Linked DNA regions of Homo sapiens: regions 1 and 3 are each linked to region 2. The links are contacts of gene promoters, found by promoter capture Hi-C in blood cells and fetal thymus (Javierre and others, 2016). All regions are on one chromosome and are shown on one strand. Each heading gives the region's core, a stretch centred on a gene start or on the middle of the fragment in contact. The rest is flanking DNA. Distances are from core to core; before and after follow the strand shown. Region 1 has its middle 17 kb from the start of SSU72L5. Region 2 holds the start of OR52K2 (olfactory receptor family 52 subfamily K member 2). Region 3 overlaps LINC02749 (long intergenic non-protein coding RNA 2749).

What was found. Contacts are between HindIII fragments. The CHiCAGO score rates a contact against its expected background, and 5 or more counts as called.
Region 1: a fragment that was not itself captured here is called in contact with the fragment with the promoter of OR52K2 in region 2 in 13 of 17 cell types (naive CD4 T cells, naive CD8 T cells, total CD4 T cells and 10 more); the score reaches 10.1 in naive CD4 T cells.
Region 3: a contact is called between a fragment that was not itself captured here and the fragment with the promoter of OR52K2 in region 2, in 8 of 17 cell types (non-activated CD4 T cells, naive CD8 T cells, M2 macrophages and 5 more). The highest score is 8.8, in non-activated CD4 T cells.

Annotation. Positions count from the first base shown.
Region 1 is chr11:4,214,241-4,218,228 of GRCh38, forward strand. No RefSeq gene overlaps it. Among named protein-coding and RNA genes, the nearest start is that of SSU72L5, 17 kb to the right of the region's middle. The HindIII fragment of the contact is 1,988 bases long and covers 1,242-3,229 here.
Region 2 is chr11:4,447,855-4,451,414 of GRCh38, forward strand. OR52K2 (olfactory receptor family 52 subfamily K member 2) reads left to right here and starts at 1,441. Exons shown (of 1, transcript NM_001005172.2): 1 at 1,441-2,507. The coding sequence starts at 1,486. The coding sequence ends at 2,430. The HindIII fragment of the contact is 8,565 bases long and covers 1-3,419 here.
Region 3 is chr11:4,194,206-4,198,224 of GRCh38, forward strand. All of the region lies in intron 1 of LINC02749 (long intergenic non-protein coding RNA 2749), which reads left to right. Among named protein-coding and RNA genes, the nearest start is that of LINC02749, 9.1 kb to the left of the region's middle. RefSeq lists an enhancer at 1-350. The HindIII fragment of the contact is 3,403 bases long and covers 1,025-4,019 here.

The DNA.
Region 1 (3,988 bases), core at 986-3,485, 230 kb before region 2:
TTCATAGCACCAGGAAAGGAGCAGGCCTCTTTCAGCCAGCCAAAGAAACACTTACCCCTTATTAGGGAAGCTGCACAACAGACTAAAACCGGATCCAGGAAACAGTGGACAGGGGACTCAGGTGGGTGTGGAGTGTGCGCCTCACTCCCCAGGAAAGCAGCGCTAGGGCCCTTTCCCTCAGAACTCTGTGGCGTGCATTGCTTCTGGCCAAGGAGGGGAAAGTTCTTTCTGGCTCTCCTCAAAGTCTTATTACAGACCTTCCTGGAATTGCTTATACATCTTCTTGGCCCCTTTCAGCTTCACTCTGGTGATACCAGTAGGTCACTGACCCAGAACATGGCCCCTGAACTCTGGTCTTGAGGTGGTGGTGGTGGCGATGGGCTTTTTGGGGTCAACTGACTTTTACTTCCTTCCAGGCAAGGTCACTGAACATGTGAAAATATGCTGGCTTTCCACCTAGTGAGGAGCTACATTATCTCTGAGTGAGAGCAGGACATTTCACCTTTGAAATGGCAAGTGGAAAGAACAGGTGGAGGTAATCAAGGACACACACACACACACACACACACACACACACACACACACACACAGGCTAATGAGGAACAGGAGGAAAAGGGATGGTGGGCAAACAGTGGAGGGAAGTGAAGGGGTGGGTGATGAGGAGGTGAAAGGAAAAAAAGGATCTAAAGGGAAAACTAGAACTGAAAGAAGGCAGGATGCAAAGGGAGAACAGCAGAGGGTGGTTGCCGCAAACACAAATCCTTCCCACACTTACCACACACACAGGCCTTTCTCTGCATTTGCTTCCCCAAGCTCTTCATGGTCATCTTCTTCCTGTGGCTGAGGGCCTTGTCCCAGGTCTTCATCACCTCGCCCCAGGGTATCTGGGAGGACCTCTCCATGGATGGGTCCTTCAGGAGGAACCTGAGTTTCTTCTCTATGTCAGCTCCTCCAGATTCTGTAGCAGTGGCTCACACAGGTGCTTTGGCCATGCCTTTCCAAGGTTGGCCATAGGCACTAGAGTCTAGAGGGAACAGAAGAAACAGCAGAATGATTTAGTAGAGAAGTCACCCTCTCTCTAGTCAGAGAAAGGGCTTCTGGAATCAGCTGTGTGACTTCCTTCTCTCCATGCCCTCTGCCATTTTCCTGACCCCACCTGGGTTACCAAACAGGCTCCTGACTGGTCTCCCCAATCCCCATTCTTGCCCTCGTAACGAATTCTTTATATTGTGGCTATACTAAGCTTTCTAAAATGCACATCTAGTTATTTCATTTCACTTCTTAAAATCCTCAGCACCTCAGGATAAAATCACAATTTCTCAGCAAAATTTACTAGGCTCTGATAGCTTCACCTCAGGTGACCCATCCAACCTCAGTGCCATTACTTCCCTTCAATGTTTCACCTTCCCTTAAGCACCTAAGAATAGGCCCTTCTTTCTCTTCCTGTCTGAAATTTCCATAAGCTGTTCTTCCATTTCTCTGAAAGTCTTTCTCCTTCATTTAGTAAACCCCTATTCACACTTCAGCCCCCAGGTTAGGGTTAGACATTACCTCCTCCAGAAAGCCTTTTCTGATCCCCAGAGATTAGGATGGTTGCTCCTTGTAAGTTCTGCCATCCCAAGATGACCCCATGTTAGTATTTACCACTGTGTTGATTAGATTGTGAACAGCTTGAGGGGACAGAATGTCTTATACCTAAGTAGGCCCAACATTGAGAATACTATGGAGTACACATAAGGTGCTCAAAAAATGTTGCGTGAACGAACCATTAATCGACAAGTGACTCGTGGTGTCTCCATCCCACTGCTTCCTCTCTCTCACCACCATCTTCACTGATAATGTCATGTCCTTCAACATTGATCAACATTGATAATGTCGTGTCCTTCCTCCCACCCCACGGGTGCTTCTCACTTAGCAGCATCTTCATCATTCATATTGTTCATCTCTTCCTTTCTGAGGTGATTCTCTCATCAAGCCCTCTATTCAAATGGTAGCCAACATTGTACCAATGACATCAAAATTGGAGGGTATCAGGTATGCCCTCCTCAACATCCCACCACCCCACCTTCCAACTTGGACTCATCAACACCTATATTCTCCACAGAGGCAGTGAGACCTACTGGCTAAGGGCTCAGGACATTTTTTTGATATGGAGTCTCACTCTGTCACCCAGGCTGGAGTGCAGTGGCCCGATCTCGGCTCACTGCAACCTCTGCCTCCTGGGTTCAAGCAATTCTCCCACCTCAGCTTCCCAAGTAGCTAGGATTACAGGCGTGCACCACCACTCCCAGCTAAGTTTTGTATTTTTAGTAGAGACGGGGTTTCACCATGTTGGCCAGGCTGGTCTCTAACTCCTGACCTCAGGTGATACACCCACCTTGGCCTCCCAAAGTGCTGGGATTACAGGTGTGAGCCACCGCGCCCGGCCAGGCTCAGGACTTTTAAATCAGACAGATTGGGTTCTGAGTGGTAATGACCTTAGGCAATATCTTCATTTCTTAGTCCGTTAGTGGGTAATTCCACGTATTTCCTGGTGTTGCTCCTAAAGGAGACAAAATACCTGAAGTCTTATTACACATACTAGCTAAGAGTGCCAACTCAGTAAACTAATTATTACTTTATTCTTGGCTACTGAATAAAGTGTTCCTGTTTTTCAAGATCACCCGCTACTCCCCTTCAAACCGTTTCATCCCATCTAGGGCCTTGCTACATAAAATATCCTTCATAATTTATATCATCTAAGTCTCCTCAAGATGAAAAACACACTAAATACGTCCTGTCTTCAAAACAACCAGCACAACATTCTACATGTGTCAGGCCCTGCCTCAAGTCCAAATCTCATCTACCCTCCCCCGACAAGCCTATTTTCTGAAGGAGCATTATCTCTACTTGTTCTGTAGCCCAGGGCTATCTCACTTATATCTGAGCACTAGAAAGAAACTGTTCTGGTAAACAAAACTCCTAATTCTTCACATGCTGGAACTCTCTACTGAATTCAAGTTTTGATCAATCTCTGCTTCTTGAAGAAAACTTTTTGGATCCTTTGCTTCAGTGAAACCAACATTTGAGTTCTCTTGTTTATGGGAGAGTCCCTCTTCATTACTTACCCTAAATTTAGAGTCTATTAGGCAAATATTCTGACTTTTAATTCTCTTTCTACATGTTCTCCTGCTGACTCAAATCTGATTTTGAAATGAGGTGGGTTATAAACATATAAGGAGTAGATGCAAGCTTTTTCTCCCACTCATCTGATGGCTTCATCGTGCACCTGTAGGTACCGATGCCACTGAAATCTAAACTTCTATCCAAGGCTTCTTCTCCAAGCCTCAGAGTTGAATATATAAACAGCATTAGGAAACTTTTCTTTTGTATATCTCAAGTTGAATTTGGCAAAAGTAGAACTTCCTACTTTGCCTCAATTATCTATTTTGGTTAGTTGCAAGACTTAAGGTGCAATCACCCTATTTAGAAACCAGGGAATCATCATGGACCTGGACCTTCCTTCATCCAATTGATCATGAAGTTTTAACAAGATTATTTCCTAAATGTTTCTGAGACCTATTCTCTTTTCCATCACTAGGTCATGGTAGACTCTAACTTCTAGTTCAAGTCCAAGGAACCCCTCTCATCACTCCATTTGCAGAGGAAAAACAATTCAAATATGAGCTGTCCAAGGATGCACAGCAATCGGCTTGTAGTTATAGGGGTAGGGCTTATTGAAAGAGGCTAAGCAAAAATACACTGAGAATAAATGCTGTTTTTTTTTTCCTTTGTCCACTTTTGTATGGGGTAATCATTTCTTTCTTTTTAGAATGGTAAGCTCTAGAGGATAAATATTTGGATGAAGGCCATAGGAAAAGGGGCCACAGAGGCCTGTTTAATAGAGACTTCAGGTCTGAGATACAAATGAGTCCTCCCAGCTCACAGTTGGTAGCTCAGTTCATGACATTACCTAGAGTTTGCACCAACATTCAGCTAGTATTAAAAA
Region 2 (3,560 bases), core at 191-2,690:
GATGTCAAGAAAAACATTTTAAAAAAGGGGGCAGATTTGTGTGGGAGGGGGAATATTGTAATGACAAATAACAGTTTTACAATGCTTTACAGTTTACAGGGACTCTTCTCATGATTTTATCTTTCCTCATCATGAAGCAGTAAAATTGTCATGGAAGATATGGTTATGCCTTCATCTATAGGTGAGGAACCTAAATCTTTAAAAATTTCAGTGATTAATACTAGTTTCTATTGGTAGGCTGATGGCTCAATCATTACTTAAACCCAAGTCTTTAGATTCTAATTTTTTTTCCTATATCATGATAATGAGTTTGAGTTATATTTCTGTTAACTTGAATATGCTGGATTTATACTTCTTAGGAAGCAATGAGGTAGAAGCAGAAGAGTGTAGTGATTTAAGACATTGGATTGGGAGGCAGCAAACCAGAGTTCTCGAAGCTCAAGTTTCATCTTTGACGTTTTCCAACTGTTCTGATTGTTAGTGACTTAGTCTTTTGTTTTCTCAATTCATAAGTGTCCACGTTTACTGAGCACTGTTTCAAGATTTGTGCTAAGTGTTTTAAAAGATCTCAAAATCCCCAAAAGAAAGTTTTTAGGCAGGAGCTGAAAAAAAAGGTGGCACAGGTCAAAAATATTGCAAGGAAATGTTTAAACGTTTTCAAGGGAAATGACAACAGAAGGTGGAAAAAGATAGAATGATAAGGATCCCAGATGGAAAAATAGTGTGAAGGGAATAGGTCAGTCTTGCAAAAAGGTAAGTGTGGGGCATCTCTTCTTCTGAATGTCATGAAGTCCAGGAAGGAAGAAGCACGTAGAGATGAAGGTTAAACTACAGTTAGGCAAAAGAGAACAACAAAAGGGCTTCTCATGTTCTCAAGTTACCTGGAGGTAGGGCTTTAGTTGGAGGGATTTCTGAGTGTCAAACAAGGACCTACGAAACCCTGCTAGAAAAAAAATCTAAAGAACTTGTAGGGAAGTGAATTATTAGAAAGTGCTAACTACATTTATTTTTCATATGACCAAGATTGACATTTCAGGGCAGAAACTCTTTCATAATTGGGAGTGTAGTTTGAATTGGAAGGCAATAGGAAGACAGTGACGGTAAATGTTTGTGGGTATGATTTGAATTAAGCAGCAATCTGTATTATTTACAAAGTTGCTTTTGGCCACATGCAGGCCACAAAAGGCTCTTCCTCCACTTGATTTCTCAATAAGGCTGCTTTGTAATACTAGCTTTATTGGAATTAAATGTCCTGAGCACCCAGTGTTTTTATAAACAGCTTAAGGGCAAGGATCATGCATAATATTTCATGATACATATGATTATTTTCTCATTTCTTTTCATGTCTAAAAATGGGTCTAAGAACTAATCTTCTCACAAGAATGATCAGAGTTTGAATGTGAGCATTGTAATTCTGCTGATATTGAATATTCTCTGGAAGGGCCCTGTGGAAGCAGATAAGGAGGAAGAGAATTCCCAGGAGCCATGTCAGCCTCCAATATCACCTTAACACATCCAACTGCCTTCTTGTTGGTGGGGATTCCAGGCCTGGAACACCTGCACATCTGGATCTCCATCCCTTTCTGCTTAGCATATACACTGGCCCTGCTTGGAAACTGCACTCTCCTTCTCATCATCCAGGCTGATGCAGCCCTCCATGAACCCATGTACCTCTTTCTGGCCATGTTGGCAGCCATCGACCTGGTCCTTTCCTCCTCAGCACTGCCCAAAATGCTTGCCATATTCTGGTTCAGGGATCGGGAGATAAACTTCTTTGCCTGTCTGGCCCAGATGTTCTTCCTTCACTCCTTCTCCATCATGGAGTCAGCAGTGCTGCTGGCCATGGCCTTTGACCGCTATGTGGCTATCTGCAAGCCACTGCACTACACCAAGGTCCTGACTGGGTCCCTCATCACCAAGATTGGCATGGCTGCTGTGGCCCGGGCTGTGACACTAATGACTCCACTCCCCTTCCTGCTGAGATGTTTCCACTACTGCCGAGGCCCAGTGATCGCTCACTGCTACTGTGAACACATGGCTGTGGTGAGGCTGGCGTGTGGGGACACTAGCTTCAACAATATCTATGGCATCGCTGTGGCCATGTTTATTGTGGTGTTGGACCTGCTCCTTGTTATCCTGTCTTATATCTTTATTCTTCAGGCAGTTCTACTGCTTGCCTCTCAGGAGGCCCGCTACAAGGCATTTGGGACATGTGTCTCTCATATAGGTGCCATCTTAGCCTTCTACACAACTGTGGTCATCTCTTCAGTCATGCACCGTGTAGCCCGCCATGCTGCCCCTCATGTCCACATCCTCCTTGCCAATTTCTATCTGCTCTTCCCACCCATGGTCAATCCCATAATCTATGGTGTCAAGACCAAGCAAATCCGTGAGAGCATCTTGGGAGTATTCCCAAGAAAGGATATGTAGAGGGTGAGGTGGAGAAAGAATGGGTTGGCTTGTCTGCTGGAGTTGGAGACAGGCTATGGTAGAATGTGCACGGCTGCCAGGATCTTCATGTTTAGTTTTTTCTTGGAAAAAAAAAAAATGATGTCCTGAAACTCAGAGCCACCAGTCTGTTCAGGACTCATGGGTCTGTGTCCTCTGGTAGCCTGTGGATTGAATGTGCTGACTGTGCTGTCTTCTCACAGTGCCCTCACCCCTATCAGTAACTTGACAGAGACTTGACCCATGGGTCTCCAGGTGACTTCACCGAAAGACACAAAGATGCTTCCAACTTCATTTGCTGAAGAGAAGACTTTGAAAATCTGAGTTTCTTTTCTTAGTCATTGGGAATTTGGTGAACTATCTACTCAGGACCTGGGTGAGGGCCAACAGTATATCTGACATAGGAATCCTTCATTCATTCTGACTGGTGGTGTCCAGCTTCTGATGAAACACTCAGTGTTAGGAAGTTTGAAACATTCCAGGGCTGCAGGTTCTGAGTAAGACACCTATGCTTGCTAGAAAATCATTTTTTCACCTAAGCCAGTATGTGTATTCTTTTGCTTATATTTACCAATCCATCCTTATGTCCAATTCCTTTTATTAAGTACTTTGAATAAGACATGTCCTCTGGCTTTATGTTTCATGCAACTCTTTCTTTGCACATAGATGTATCTTATGTTTTCAAGAATGAGAATGGCTCATTTATTTACTAATTCCACCAAATCTGTGATAGGGGATGGGGACACATATACTAAATTAGGGGTGTCAGACTTGTGTATTTGTCCTAAGACAGAGAAGGAAATGATAATTATGATAGATTCTGTTCTCTGAAATTTCCATCCCAAGGCCCAGCATAATAAAAGAAGAGCAAGACCAAGCAGATAGGAGGCAAGAATATTATGTTTCTCTTTTCCTGTCTCATGTGAACTTACCTACTATATAATTCTCTATTAATCCTGACAACACAGCTAAGCTTTTCACACAAGCCCTGTATAAATACATTGTTCTGCTGTTATCTTCTGACCCACTTGTTTCCTCAGATATTATTGCTTAGAAATTATATATCTCTTTTGCTATCACTGTATCTTTCTCTATTTACCTGTCTATATTAT
Region 3 (4,019 bases), core at 1,476-3,975, 250 kb before region 2:
GAGTGTGTCTGGCCACAAGCTAGACTGTGGCTGCAGCTGATGGCCATCATCAAGCTGGCGCCAAAGCTGCCCTCCTGCCCAGGTTTCCAGAGATTCTCTAGCTAGTTCTCTTCTCTGTTCTTTGGAAGATTTACTGCCTTATTCCACCGCTTTAGTGGTTATCCTACAATTTCCTACATTTTTCTTTGACTTAAATAAGTAAAATCTTTACTCCTTTTCCTGAGCCATTCAAGGAACTTGGGTTATTTTAACTTTACTTTCCTCCTGCCTTACATGATTTTCTTTTAAAAACTTAATTTTATTTATAATTCCAGAGTTATAGAAAATTTGTAACAGTTGGTGTACAGTATTTCCATATATCCCCTCTCAAGTTCCATATATATTAATATTTAACTACATATACCTTATAATTCTTTCCCTCCCCAACATCATTTTTTTCTGAACTATTTGATACTGATCTACATATATGTGCTGTGTTACCCCTAAATATATCCTTGTGTATTTCCCAAGATATAAAAATATTCTCATAAAATTATCACACAGTTATCAAAAGCAGGTAATTAAGAAGACACAATGCTATACTCTAATTTACAAACCTTATTCAAATTTCACCGAATGTCTTAGTTATGTCTTTATAGCCAGAGAAGGAAAAAAATACATATTTTTCTTGTCTAGGATTTAGTCTAGAATCATGTTACATTTAGTCATTTCTAGTCTTCTTTAAGCCGATTTCTCTTGGTCTTTCTTTCACTTTTCTTTTTTGAGGGGTACAGGACAATTATTTTGTAGAATGACCTTATTTGGGTTTGTCTGATGTTTCCTCATGATTAGATTCCAGTTATGTATTTCTGGCAGAAATGCCACAGAAGTGATATTGTGTCCTTCTCAGTGCATTGTTATCAGGAGGCACATGATGTTGGTTTTTGTCCCACTGCTGGAGATAATAACTTTGGTCACTTGGATAAGGTGGTGTCTGCCAGGCTTTGTCTGCCATTGCAAAGTTAATATTTTCATTTGGTAATTAAGCTTTGGGAAATACTTTGAGATGATATAAATATTCTGTTTCTCATCAGACTTTACCCACTAAATTTTAGCATCCTTTGATGATTAGTGTTTGAGGTATAATGGTTGTAAAATGGTGAATTTTCTGCTTCCATTATTTCTCATACATTTATTAGTTGTTACTCTACTGTAAGGAAGAGTTTACCTCCCTCCCTCCCAATCCATCCATCCATCCATCCATCCATCCATCCATCCATCCATCCACCCGCCCATCCATCCATCTACCTACCCACCCATCTTCCATTCAGTCAGTCTGGATTCATAGATATTTATTTTATTTAATTAGTTATGCTTTGTTACTAGCATTGGTGATTTTGATGATCAAAATTATCCCAGATTAGTCCTGTGAGAGCTCCTCCAAGTTGATTCTTGTGTCTTTTTGACACACTGCTATTACTTTTTGAGCACTTCCTTACTTTCTGTTACTACAAGATATTCCAGGCTCATCTTGTACTTTCCCGGCTCAAACTCTGTAATCTGGTATTTTTCTAAGAAACCCTGATTCCTTTTAGCAGAGAATTGTGTATAAAAACAAACCAAGACCTGGAATAGGTCTGTTCATTGCCAGAGTGTTGTTATTTTTAGGCCCTGTCATACATATACACACATGTGTGTGTAGTATATATATTATGTAAATATGCACACACACACATGCAAATCCATTCATCTATCTACCTACCTACTTACCTACCTATCTTTCTTAAAAACCATGAGTTCATACTGATATGACCAGTTCCAATCCAACACTCTAGAGTTCATTTTAACCTTCTCTCTTTCCATATATGTAATTTCCTTCTCCAACCGTGAAAAACCTGGTTTCAGTTACCCACAGTATATTTACTTATTTGCTTAATCCTAGAATACACAGAATGTAGTTTCAGAATTGTTAACTCATGCTGGTGTGGGAAACAAATCTATTAAACAGAGTTCAATATTTGCTACTGTCTTTTTGCCCTAGCCTGAGAATACAGAGGCAAAGTACTGCTTCAAAACTTCTGTTATCACCCCCTACCCGTACTGTGTTTTGTCATTCACTTAACCTACAGTTCGGTACACTTGCTTCCATATGTATTCAATGCTAATGTTTCCTCCTTTTATCCTTGTTGATTGTATTTACTGAAAAACTGAGTACATGAAACATTAACATGGTTGTAAAAGTCAGAACAGATCTGTACAAAAACATGAACTCAGAGAAGTGTCACTGCCCTCCATCTTCTCTACCTTGCTCCCACCATCTTATTCTTTTCACCCATCAGGCTAAAAAAAGACATCAGAGAAAAATATATCCTAATATGTTGAGTTTATTCGGGAGTAAGCAAAAGGATTATAATCTGGGAAGCACAGCTGTAGCAAGCCATAGGTACAGGTACATCAAGCCAAAGGTAAAGGGAAATTTTTACTGGCAAGGAGAAGCTATGTAAGCTGCTTGGAGACAGAGTTCATTGGTTCTGGAGGCTCAAAGCTAGAATTAGCATCAGTTCATTGGTGGAGATGCCACTGCTAGGCATCGGCCTAGCATCTTATCAGAATTGCTACAGTCCTAAAGAATGTATAGTGATAAACCTGGTCATAGAAATATGTGCATGCATGTAAAATGTAAAATGCATGTAAAATGTAGATCATGAAAAGCATGAGATGTATAAAAGATGAAGGAATTTCTCGTGGAGTTATTTTAGAAAGTCCTTGAAATAGTCCTTATCTCAGATGTGCAAGCATGAGCTGTGCTCCTTTGTGTGTTCTGGCTCCAGTTTGCTCGGGTCTGACAAAAGTGACTTATTTTGCTATCTGCAACTTTAGTCACTCCATTTCCACCCACTCCTGTATGGAACCAATCTCATTAGTTTCTGGGTTTCCTTTCCTAAGTTTCTTTTTGTATAGTTGTGCAGACAAATATATATTTTCTTATTCCCCTTTCTTTCTTGCACAAAACGTGGCATACCATAAACACTTTCTCACACTTTGCTTTTTAAATTTAACAGCATATCTTGGGAGCCATTCTATATCAGTTTATAGATGTCATCCTCATTCATTTTTATAGCTGCAGACTATTCCATTCGATGATGTACCATAGTTCATTCAACCATTTTCCTATGTAAAGTCATTTTGGTTGTTTCTAATATTTTTCAATTATAAACAATGCTACAATGAAAATCCTTAAACATATGTATTTTTGTATATATTTGAATATGTATTACCAGGATAAATTATAAAAAGGGGGAAAAGCATGTGCCATTTTGTTTGATATCATCAAATTCTCCCCCATTAAGGTTGTACTAATTTCCATTCCCATCAGAAATGCTTGAGCATCTACTTTCTTCAAGCCTTGCCAACAGAACGTGTTAGTGTATGTTTACATTTTTGCCAATCTGCTAGGTGAGAGATAATATCTCAGTGTTATTTTAATTTGCATTTCTCTTATTATAGTTGAGGCTGAATGTTTTTTCACATGTTTACGGGACATTTTAATTCTTTTTTCAGTCAATGGTCTGTTTATGTCTTTGACTATTTGACCATTTTTATATCAGGTTTTTGAAACTTCTATCGAGTAGAAAAAGTTATTTATATATTAGCGATATTACATATGTATCTGTGTTATATATTACCGATCTTTTCTCTCAGTGTTTAATTTATTTTGGGATTTTTTTTTTTTTTTCTGCGACAGAGTCTTGCTCTGTTGCCCAGGCTAGAGGGTAGTGGTACAGGCTCGGCTCACTGCAACCTCCCCCTCCCAGGTTCAAGCGATTCTCCTGCCTCAGTCTTCTGAGTAGCTGGGATTACAGGTGCCCGCCACCACGCCCGGCTAATTTTTGAATTTTTAGTAGAGACGGGGTTTCACCACGTTGGCCAGGCTGGTCTTAAACTCCTGACTTCAGGTGATCTGCCTACCTTGGCCTCCCAATGTGCTGGGATTACAGGCGTGAGCCACAGCACCCGGCCAGGACTTTTCTTTTTTCTTT